Linked DNA regions of Homo sapiens: region 2 is linked to region 1. The links are contacts of gene promoters, found by promoter capture Hi-C in human tissues and cell types (Jung and others, 2019). All regions are on one chromosome and are shown on one strand. The core of a region is centred on a gene start or on the middle of the fragment in contact, and the rest is flanking DNA. Distances in the headings are between cores, read along the strand shown. Region 1 has its middle 18 kb from the start of SYT8. Region 2 holds the start of TNNT3 (troponin T3, fast skeletal type).

Region 1 (6,191 bases), core at 2,569-5,068:
TTCCTTTGTGCATGGCGGGAGGCACTGGATGTCCTGGAACTTCCTCCTGGGATATGGGGCTGATCAGTGAGTAGGTTTGGGTGTAGCCAGCTACAGCCATAAGCCACTAAGTGCCCAGTGGCTTTTCTTTTCATGGTTTTAGCAGCTGCTGGTGACATTTCCTAGAACAGGGGTCAGCAAACTACAGTCGCCCCCGGCCAAATCTTATTCCCCATCTGTTTTTGTAAATAAAGTTTTATTGGAACATGGCCCCCACTCATTCACTTATGTACCATCTGTGACTGCTTTCATGGTACCATGGCTGTGGTGATTCCAAGAAGGTCCCCCCAGACTTTGTGCCGTGATTCCCAGAATTGTGAATAATTCTCACCCTTGTGAGTGTGTTATGTTGTCTGGCAAAAGGCATTTTGCGGATAAAGTTTAGGCTGCTGATGAGTTGACTTTAAAATAGAGAGAGGATCACGGTGGGCCTGGTTGAATCCCATGAGCCCTGTAAAAGCAGAGTTTGGGTTGTTTTTTTTACCCCCCAGCTGGTGGTAGGAGAGAAATTGAGAGGGATTCACAGTGATTCTCCTCGAGGAAGGCTCTCCATGAACCAGGGGAAAGGACTGAGCACGACCTCCTGCAGAGAGTCACCCTGCCTACAGCCAGCAGGAAGATGGGGACCTACAAACACAAGAACCGAATTGTGTCCACACCGTGAATGCCCCGAGAGTGGAGTCTTCCCCAGCACCTCCAGAGAGGAGCCCAGCCTGGCTGGCATCTGCTCTCAGCCAGTGAGGACCTAAGGAAAAAGCCCTACAGGAATGCCCAGAGCTCTGTTCCACAGGATGCACAGGATTTGTTTCACAGCTGGGTTTGTGGTGATTTATTACACAGTGATAAAAAACAGACACAATGACAGAGAGCAAATGGCCTGCAAAGACAGATGTGTTTGCAACTCAGCCCTTGTAGAAAACAACCACAACAACAAGCCCTAAGTTAGGTTTCTCAGTCTTGGCATTGTGGGCATTTGGGGCCAGGCTGTTAGTTTTCTATGGTGTGGAACAAATTGCCACAAACTTAGTGGCTTAGAACAACACATGTTTCTTATCTCACAGTTTTTGTGGGTAGAAGCCTGGGGCACAACTTAGCTGGGTTCTCTACCTCAGGATCCCATGGTGTCAGCTGGGGCTGCATTCTCATCTGAAGGTCCAACTGGGACAGGGCCTGCTTTGCATTCACTTAGCTTGTTGGTAGAATTCAGGTCCTTGTGGTTGTAGCACTGAGGTCCTCACTTCCTGCAGGCCACCCATAGTTCCCAGTCTTGTGGGCCCCTCAAAGGCAGTTCACACATGGCTCTTGCTTCTTCAAGGCCAGCAGGAGACAGAGAGAGTGACTCCAGAATATTATATACTATAATATAATCCCAGGTGTGACATCTACCACCTTTGCCATATTCTGTTGGTTAACACTTTCAAGGAGAGGGGACAACACAGAAGCACAGCCAACAGGAAGCAGAAATCACTGTGGTTCACCTTAGGGTCTTTCTAACCCAGCCAGATAATGTTTGCTGTGGGGCTGTCCTGTGCACTTTAGGATATTTGTCAGCATCCCTGATCCCTACAGCAACTCTCAGTTACAACAATCAAAAATACCTGTAGATATTGCCAGAGGGGCAAAACTGCCCCCAGTTGAGGACCACTGCCCTAGATCCATCATTTCATTAGGGGTTGCAAAATTGCAATTTTCTAAACTTGGTATTTCTTCAGCATTTATTTGCAAGAGTTCTTCTAAAGATACACTTTCCCACATCAAATATTTGGTACAGGGAAGGCAGAGAAAAATATTGATTATTTTAAATATATATTATTGTGAAATCATAAATTGAAGTATATTACTTAAATGTACTGTATTGAATGTGTGCAGTAATTCTCAATGGCTGTGGAACAAATTGCCACAAACATAAAGCTCCCATTTAGTATATGCACTTCTGTATGCCAGATGTCCTGGTATAGCTTAGCCAGATTCCTCACTCAGGGTCTCACTAGCTTGAGATCAAGCTGTCAGCCAGGCTGTGTTCTCATCTGGAGACCCAACTAGGGAGGGAGCAGCTTCCAGGCTCATTTAGGTTTTGGCAGAACTTATTTCCATGAAGTTGCAGAATTCATGGCAGCTTCCTCCTTCAAAGCCAGCAACAGAGAGAGAGGGTCTCTGCCCCTTCGAGTCTCTAACTTCAGAGAAGCCCTAGACTCTCTTACAAAGGGCTTGCCTGTTAAGTCAGGACCACTGAGAAAAATCTCCTTTTGATTAACTCAAAGTCAACTGGTTAGGAACTTAATTATATCTGCAAAGTCTCTTCACTTTTGCTTTAATCTCTCAGTCAAAGAAAAATCACAGATTCTGCCCTGCCTCAGGGCAGGGGATTAAATAAGGCCATTACTCACTGGAGGCCGCATTAGGGTGTGCCTGACACAATGCCCTTCCATTCATTGAACTTATTGTCTTTACTGGTGACCATGTGGTCCCACATTTGGTCAATGGGGATACATTTAAGTTGACTGGTATGTCATCTTGAAATGACCTCAGTAGTCTTTGATTGTTTCTTAGCTTTCTGATGCAATGAGAAGTTCCAGGTTTATCTTATGTCATGGCTATGTCATGGCTCAGCCCAGAACCAGTCATTTCTCCAAGGGTTCACGGTTCTTTTTGAAGGGAGTTTGGTGGGTATTTAGAGGTCCCACTTTGGGTGCCAGGGTGCTCATTGCTACTAGTCTATTTTCATTGTTTCTAAGCTTTTACTGTGGACAGAATTAGGCAAGACCTATTTTTCCAGTTTTTGTATGGTGGTAAAATATGTGTAACAAAATTTACCATCTTCTAAGTGCACAGTTCCGTGGCATTCAGTACATTCGCGCTGCTGTCATCCCACTATCCAGCTCCAGAATGCCTTTTGTCTCGAAAAGCAGCAGCTCTGCTCCCATTAAATCCAACTCCCCCTCCACCTCCCCCAGCCCCTGGCACTCGCCATCCTACTTTCTGTCACTATAAATTTGACTACTCTAGGGACCTCATACAAATAGAATCATACAGTATTTGTCTTTTCTTTTTTCTTTTTTTGACTGGCTTAGGAAATAACTTTTTTTTGTTTTGTTTTTTTAAGATAAAGTCTTGCTCTGTCACCCAGGCTGGAGTGCAGTGGCATGATCCCAGCTCACTACAACCTCCACCTCCTGGGTTCAAGCAATTCTCCTGCCTCAGCCTCCTGAGTAGCTGGGATTACAGGCATGCACCACCATGCCCAACTAATGTTTGTATTTTTAGTAGAGACAGAGTTTCACCATGTTGGCCAGGCTAGTCTTGAACCCCTGACCTCAAGTGATCCACCCGCCTAGGCGTCTCAAAGTGCTGGGATTACAGGAGTGAGCCACTGTGGCCCAGCTGGAAATATATATTTTTAAAGGTAAATATATCATGGAATCATACTGATATTTCTAATTTACCTACAGGATTTTAAGTTTCTTTCTTGACTTCTTGGAGTGCATACGTTTATCTGAACCGTTTTATGACTGTGAACTGTTTTATGTGAACTGTTTTATGACTGAAAAAACTACAGGGCACAGGCAGGTTGCTCAGCATCCTGGTTGCTGTCTCTTTCAGGTGCCCCTTGCCCCTTTTTGCAAGCTTTATTTTTATTTTTTTGAGACAGAGTCTTGCTGTATTGCCCAGGCTGGAGTGCAGTGGTGTGATCTCGGCTCACTGCAACCTCCGCCTCCTGGGTTCAAGTCGTTCTCCTGCCTCAGCCTCCTGAGTAGGTGGGGCTGCAGGCGCCCACCACCTCACCTGGCTAATTTTTGTATTTTTAGTAGAGACGGGATTTCGCCATGTTGCCCAGGCTGGTCTCAAACTCCTAGCCTCATGTGATCTGCCCGCCTCATCCTCCCGAAGTGCTGGGATTACAGGCATGAGCCATGGCGCCCGGTCTCTTTTTGCAAGCTTTGATTGACAGTTCCATCTTTTAAAAGATATTTATTCACACCCCAAAACCTTTCTTAGTAAACGACAGTGTGTTAATCCCCATCTGGTCTGCCCCATGTTGAGTGCCCCAGACACGGGTCTGGGAGACCAGCCACAGCTTTGCCCAGAGCCTCTCACCCACTGTCAGCCACAGAGGCTCCCCAGCGTGGACACCCCTTGGTTTGTCCAACCAGACCCACTCCAACAGGTGGGTCACCTGCGCCATTTGCTCTTACATGGGGTGCCCCATGCATGGCCAACACAGCCACCGTTTGTAGGTTTTGAGGCAGTTTGGGTGGCCCCAGCTGACATCAAGTGGTCCTGGATGACACCTGTGTTCTTAGCCAGCCTAGAGCTCCTGCCTCAGCTGCCTTCATCCCGGGAATGCGTGGCAAGGCAGCTCTGTGGGCTGCTGTCTTCTGGTGCATTCTCCCTGAGTTTATCCAGAAGTTAGTCCCATTCCTGGGCCCACTACAATGTGGGTTAAGCCCTCATGACTCTGAGATCTCCTCATTCCCGAGGAACATGCTAGCACTTCTTGCAGCTCCACATCTCCCCACCTTGTCATCCTGGAGTATTCTCAGAAAGGCCAGAAGTTGTCACCCCTTCTAGGGGACTCACACGTGAGCCCAGCCCCTGTCCGTTTATGGAAGGAGACACCCCTGCTCCCATGGGGCCCTTCTCCTGGGGAAGGGAGGGAAAGAGCTTGGTGTTTGGGCCTGTATCTGGCCTTTCTCCCGGGAAGGCCCTGGACGTGATGCCCAGAGCGCCCAGCCACCCAGCAGGCTCCTGGCCGCCCATGCCCCAGGCCCAGCCTCCTAGGGCCGTAGCCTCCCCAGGGCCTCAGTGCCCCACCACCACCGGGAAATTCCAGTGGAATCATCACAGAGCCCTGGGGATGGTTAAGGCTCTCTGGTTGCAATAACACAAACTGAAGCTGGCGAACTTAAGCCAGGAAGAAAAGAGGGCATTTATTGGAAGGAGGGGCAGCCGTCAGACCAGAAGAAAGAACCAAAGAGCCCATTCAGGCTTCCTGGTCCGGGAGCCCATGAGCAGTCCCTGGAATGACACGGTCTTCCTTCTCGGGGAGCATGGCCACAGCCACCAGTTGATGGACAGGCCCACCAAGCTGCCCCTCCATGGAGGAAGGGTGGTTCCTTGCAGGGGAGGGGACACAGGCAAGGCCCAGGCCCAGAGCCTTCTGCAAGGGGAGGATTTCTTGTTTGTCCTAACACAGTGCCACTCAGGCTCGCCATGCACCATGGCCTGGCCCCGTTCAACATCAGCATCTCTTCCCTGCAGGCTCCTCTTTGGGACACACTGGCGCTGCCGTCGGGGGTCGGGTGCTGCCCAAGGACCTGAGATCCTATTCCATTCCTGACTCCCCCGGAGCTTGCAGCCTCCAGGAGACGGGTCTGATCTCACTTTCAAATCAAAGTCTTTCTGCATGAGGTCTGGTCATAGAGAAGGCGGCCCCTGTGGGCCCCCGGTTTGGGGACACAGAAATCCTTTCACTTCTGCAACCTCCCAAATGCGCTTTGAGCAGTTGTGTTATGGGCTAAATTGTGTCCTCTCAAAATTCACATGTTGCAATCCTAGTTCTCGGTGCCTAACGATGTGATTGTAGCTCGAGATGGGATCTTCTTTTTGTTTTTTTTTGAGACAGAGTCTCACTCTGTCACCCAGGCTGAAGTGCAGTGGCACAATCTCGGCTCACTGCAACCTATGCCTCCCGGGTGGGTTCAAGTGATTATCCTGCCTCAGCCTCCCAAAGTGGCTGAGATTACAGGTGTGTGCCACCACGCCTGGCTAAATTTTTTATATTTTTAATAGAGATGGGGTTTCACCATGTTAGTCAGGCTGTTTGAGATGGAATCTTTAAAGTGGCAATTAAGTTAAAATGAGGTCTCCAGGGAAAGCCCTAATTCAGTGTGGCTGTGTCCCTACAAGAAGGAGAGGTAAGGACAAACACACACCGAGGGACGGCTCTGAGGGCACACAGGGAGAAGGCAGCGTCTGCAAGCCATGGAGAGCGGCCTGGGAAGAAACAGCCCTGCCACAGGTTGATCTCAGACTCCAGCCTCCGGGACTGAGAGACAACAGATTCTCGCTGTTCGAGCTGTGCCACAGTAGTCACCCCTCATTGTGGGTTCAGTTACCGATGGCCAAGTATGGTCTGAAAACATTAAATGGAA
Region 2 (5,728 bases), core at 32-2,531, 100 kb before region 1:
CGTGCGCTGGAAAGGCCCACTCTCCAAGTGGGGAAACTGAGGCACCTGGTTTTCTGCTGAGCGCCTGGAAGCAACACAAGGCTGTTCTGTTCCCCCCAGTATGGCCTGTGTCATTGCCTCTGTTGCGGGGAGGGGCTGGTGGCAGGGGTGTGCTGGGGGCAGGGGTGTGCTGGGGGCAGGGGATGGCATTTCAACAGCTGAGACGCAAAGCAGGTGTCCAGTTAGTGCCTGCCTTGGAGGGGCTGCGTGAAAATAACCTATGCGGTCAGTTTCTTCGGGCACGTATGCATCACCTTTCCCTCCTTGGGAGGTGACGGGGCCAGGGCAGGGTGGGGAGGCAAAAGCCGCTGCCCCTTGCTTGCTGTGGCCCTGACCATGCCCCCAGACCTGTTCTCCACCCAGCCAACCTTTGCTTTGCCCCATGTCCCTCCGTGGACTTCAGGAGGGGCAGCCAAGGCCTGATCAGACGGCACAAGTCAGGGGGACCGTGTCCAGGGCAGGGAGGGTGGGTGGGGGCTCTTACGAGCGCCAGCTTCTCCAGCCTCCAGCCAGGGGGACGCGATGAAGCCCAGCCCCTCACTCTTGCCCCGTCCTGCCCCAGTCCAGCCCCTGTCCACTTCTGTCCTGCACCTCCAGACGCTGGCCCCCAAGGCTGCGTGGGCTTTAGACGCCCCCACCCCAACACACTCGGGCTGGCCATACAGGAGCCCCTGCCCTCCTGTCCTCGTTTTCATCTCTACAAAATGGCGGTGTTGGAGGCCCAGGTGCGAGAGCTGCATGGCAAGGCCAGGACGGGCCTGGGCAAATGTCTGCATGGCGACCACAAGCTGGCAACCTAAGCCCTGGCAGCACCCCTGCACAGCCTCTTCCCTGCCGCTCACAGCCCGCACCTCTCTGCCTCCTGCCCTCAGGCCACTCCCTAGCACTGAGCTTCCCTGAGCCCCGACTTGCCCCCTCCTGGCCTCCCACACTCTGCCTTCTTCTGCATCCTCCCGGTGCTGAGACCATCACACCACCATGTCCGCATCCCAGACTCTCCGGACGCTGGAGCAGCCACCTGGGGGCTCCGAGCCATGATGCTTCGAGATGCTCGGCACCACACGGACCTGGGACCTCAGCGCCCCAGGACCCCAGAGTGTCCCTGGAACGAGGGGCTGTCCACCCGCACGCAGGAGGCCCCGTCGGCCCCAGTCCTGGGTGGCCGCTCCTGCCTATACCCACCTGCGGGTCGAGTGTGAGAAGGGCTGGAGCTCCCTGTGGACAGCACCGGCTGCAGGCACTGGCGCCCGGCTCACACCCTCGTGTTATAGTGACATTTGATCTTCCTAGGAGCCCATTGGCCAGTGACTGGGTGGCCGGGGTGTGTGCGGAGTCTTGCTGGGGGGGGCTATGCCCGTGCAGGCCCCTTACCAAGTATAGGAATGGCCAGAGGAGGAGGCTGAAGGAGGCCAGGATGCAGAGGACGTGCTTGGAGAAGGAGGCAAGGTCCTCCCTCCGCCTCCAGGAGGTGTCAGCTGCTATTTTTACTCCCAGCAGCGGGTACATTCTGGATGGGCTGAGGAGGGAGGAGGAAGGTGTTGGGTGGCCCCGGGGCACCAAGCCGAGGCTCTCTTTGGGCCAAACTAGTGTGGGGGTCCCCAGAGCCAGGCTGCCGGGTTTCCCACCCCCCCGCCCCTTCTCTCTGAGATGTTCTGTGGGAGTAAACATTTGTCCAGGAAAAGGGTCCGCACAGCCGGGGTCCCCTCCCGCCGCCCGGCCCAATGCCCCAGGCCCTTCGCTGTCTCCCCCGGGGAGGAAGCAGCCTGAGGCCTCGGAGACCCCCCATGGAACTGAGGCCAGGCCCCCACCCTATCTGAGACCCTCTTAGAGGCCAGCTCTGCTTTCCTGGCTAGACACCGTTGGGGCCTACACAATAAGCGGGCGAGGGACATGGCCAGGCTGGCTGCAGTCCGAGTCTGCCATACCTCCCCCCGGGGCTGCTGCCATTGCAGGGGGCTACACATGGAGTTTGCTGGGTAAGGGTCTGGGTCCTCCCTCTAGGCCCTTTCTAACCCTGGGGCCCCACCCTGGGCACTCGCAGTGGCCGTTACCATCTGTGCCAGCATCTCCCACAGGCTCATTGTGGCGTGTGGAGACTGGTTTTCTTTCCTCAGGACTCCAGGTGGCACCGTCCGACTAGCAGACATCCTTCCTGGCCTCTGATGGCCTGTATGCTGGCCAGTGAGGCCACCAGATTGGATAACCCTGCCTCTTGGATCAGGGAAACTGAGGCACCAGGTGGGGGAGAGCAGTCTGGCACCCTGACCCACCCCCTCACTCCCCTCAGACCCCACAGGCTGAGCGTGGGCGGTGGTGTCTGCGGAACTCTTCGGTTCAGGCACAGATTGGTTCCTTCTTGGCCAGCGCCCAGGACAGGGGTGAGTCCCGAGAGGCACAGATGAGGTCCCTGTCCTCCCCAGGCTTAGAGTCAGGGACAACAGGATAACCCGGCAGGGGCTCACAGTGCCCTGGGGCCGGGTCGGGGGCCTTCCGGAAGGCTGTGGTTGGCACCTCATTCCACCCCTCCATGGAAGAGCGAGGCCGCAGAGCCCAGGGACAGGCAAGGTGTGCCTGGGGTCACACGACAAGGCGGGCTGGCCCCAGGCTGCCATTTCAAAGGACAGGGCCGGTCCCCTGCCTGCCTCCCGCTGAGTGCCCGGCACTGGGAAGGCTCTTGGAGCTGGGGTTGCTGGGAACGTCGCCGTCCTCCTGCTCTGGGTCTGTGGCTTCGTCTGCATTCCACGCCTTCCCCTCCCTGTCCATGTCCTCGATGGGCAAGGCTTTGGGGGCCACAAACAGCCCTGGCCCCTGGATATCTGTGACCAGCTTCCTGCCCACTGGGGACATCTGCAGAACTGCTCCCTCAGAGGCACGTGAGCGGGTCCCTGGGGGTCAGCGGGCCCACCCCATCCTCTCCCATGGTGGGGCCAACCTCCTTTTCCAGGCTCGCTCTGCCGGCTTCTCTAACGGAGCCCTGAGCCCACCATTCTGGTTACACGTGGTTCAGTCTGCAGGCCTAGGAAGCCTGTGCCCACCCAAGCCCTCACCCAGGCCAGGGGTCCTGAGGGGCGCACCTGAAGGTGGGTGTGCCATAACCCTGCACTGGCCCCGTGTGGCCAGCAGGGGAAGGTGCTGCCCGCCCAGCTCCTGGAGCTTTGGCAGGCGCTCTCCGCCCAGCCAGCTGAGGTCAGAGGGATAGGGCAGGTTTTATTTTGGGTATCGGCGACCTCCCCCTCGGGCGCTGGGCCTGAGGCGTAGCAGGGACTGCACAGAGCAGGCACCAGCGGCCTCGAGGGCCTGCACCAGGTAACCCATGCCCTGCTGCCATCTGGCCGGACCGGGATGGTCCAAGGAGAGGAGGCAGGGCAGGGGCCTCCTGGGGGACTGTAGACCTGGGTGGGGGCAGGGCACAAGGGAGGCCCAGCCTGGGTTGGGGACGCATTTCCACCCAGGAGGAGTCTGAGGACGGACCACGGGGCCTTGGCTCTAGGGCAGTTGTTGGGGGATGGGGGGGTTCTGAAATTGGCAAATGCTGAGCCAAGCCCAGGGAGTGGGGAGCAGGCTGTGGGAGGGAGGATGGCCTCCTGAGTGTCTTGGCTGCAGCTCCCTGCCTGGGTGGCCCCCAGATGGTGGCCGGGGCCCCTCAATCTAGGTCCCAGCACCCAGTGCGCATGGTTGGGGGTGGTGGAGACCAAGAGGGTCCTGAGCCTCTCCTCATGCCCTGAGCTGACCTGAGCCCCCAGGCTGGATCCAGCCTGAGGCCGCTCGGCCCAGCTGTGGGCTCAATCACTGCCAGGCCCAGGACAGGAGCAGCTGACACAGCACTTGGGAACTGAGCTGCTCCAGCCCTAGGTAGCTGCCTCCCCACATGCCTAGTGCTTCTGATTTTGCAGTTTCATTGACTCGTTCTGCAGATATGATGGGTGTCTTCTCTGTGGCTGGCCTAGGGGCTTGTAGCAAGGGTCACAGGGTGTCTGGTGGCTGCTCTGGCAGGCAGGACAGAGGCTAGGGGCTTCATCTGCCATCCCTGGCCAGGGGCCTCTTAGGCTGCAGGCCTTTTGAGCCTCCTGACCTCCGCATTGGGCATGGCCTGACCTCCAGGTTTCCAGGAGCAGGGGCATGGGGTTGCTGTGGCCGTGGACGGGAGGCTGCATCAGAAACACAGCAGGGCTGTGGCTGGGTAGAGCTCAGAGGGACAGGCCCTGGGTCCTTGTTCTCGAGGCTGAGCCGAGGGGTGCAGATGATCTGACAAGGGGCCAGGGCTGGTCGGGGGCGGGGTGGGCAGTGGCTGCCTCCTCAGCACTGCTGACCCCAACTACCCCCTGCCCCTGGTGCTGTCCACTCTGCACCCCAGTGCTGAGTGCCCAACTGTGGCCTTTGGGCCTGCCTCTCGGCTGCCCTTGGTCACCGTCCCAAGCGGATCAGGTGGGAAACAAGGGGAGTGCTGTCACTGGGTGGTTCCCCAGCTGGGGAGGGTGGCCTGGATCCTCTCTCAGTGGCTGGGGCATCTGAGAAAGGATGGGGGCACGTCACCTCCCTTGTGTGGGTGGTGGCTCTGTCGAGGTTTTGCTTTTCTGAACTGTGTGTATTCATGAGGCAAGCAGGGTTTGACATGAAGCCTTCAGAAAATAGTGGCTGTGAGGACCCAAGGGAATGGCAAAGTGAAGTCCAGAACATCAGAGTCTGGGGTGCTGCTCCTCGAAGGGACTTCCCAGACGCTGAAGGCTGCAGGGCTGAGTGTCAGGGCCCAGTGCAAGACCTGGGAGAGGAGGGACAGGAGGGAGGGTGTCCCCAGGCTGTCTGCTATTTCACACAGTTGTCCATTCATCCACCCATCTATTCATTCCCATGCATTCACTCTCACCTTCACCACTTCCTTTCCTTCCTTCCTCCCTCCTTCTCTTCCATCATCCATCCCTCCGTCTGTCCATCCTTTCAACCACCCATACAATCACCTACCCATCCACTCATCCCTCCATTTCATCTATCCCTCCCGCCATCCATCCATCCATCCATCATTAGTCTATCCATCCATTCATCCACCCACCTATCCATCTATCTACCCATCCATCTACCTGTCTATCCATCCATCCATCCATCTCTTCATCTATCCATCTACCCATTCATGCATCCATCCATCCCTCCCTCCCTCCCTTCATCCACCCTCCCTTCATCCATCCATCCCTCCCTCCATCCATCCATCCACACATCCACTCATCACCCCAACACACACACCTCCCCACAACACACACACACACAGAAACATCACCCCCCCAAAACACACACACATAACATCACCCCCCACAACACACACACACAGAAACATCACCCCGCACACACACACATACAAATAATATCCCCCCCAACACATGCACACACAGAAACATCACCCCCCACAACACACACACACACAGAAACATCCCAGGTGTGTGACCCCACAACACACACAAAGAAACATCATCTGAGGTGTGTGACCCCACAACACATACACACACACGCAGAAACATCATCCCAGGTGCGTGACCGCACAACATACACACACAGACACACACACACAGAAACATCATCCCACGTGTGTGACCCCACAACACACAGACACACACATACAGAAACATCATCTCAGATGTCCTATCCCACAACACACACACAGAGAATAACATCATCCCCAGGGATGTGATCCCAGAACACA

What was found. Contacts are between HindIII fragments. The study calls those that stand out against the background at their distance.
Region 2: the fragment with the promoter of TNNT3 here is called in contact with a fragment that was not itself captured in region 1 in 2 of the 25 tissues and cell types used here (liver and pancreas).

What each region holds. Positions count from the first base shown.
Region 1 is chr11:1,813,964-1,820,154 of GRCh38, reverse strand. No RefSeq gene overlaps it. Among named protein-coding and RNA genes, the nearest start is that of SYT8, 18 kb to the left of the region's middle. The HindIII fragment of the contact is 5,465 bases long and covers 1,086-6,191 here.
Region 2 is chr11:1,915,256-1,920,983 of GRCh38, reverse strand. TNNT3 (troponin T3, fast skeletal type) reads right to left here and starts at 1,281. Exons shown (of 16, transcript NM_006757.4): 1 at 1,222-1,281. It also overlaps a transcript of PRR33 not described here. RefSeq lists an enhancer at 3,914-3,963 and a silencer at 4,514-4,563. The HindIII fragment of the contact is 33,765 bases long and covers 1-5,728 here.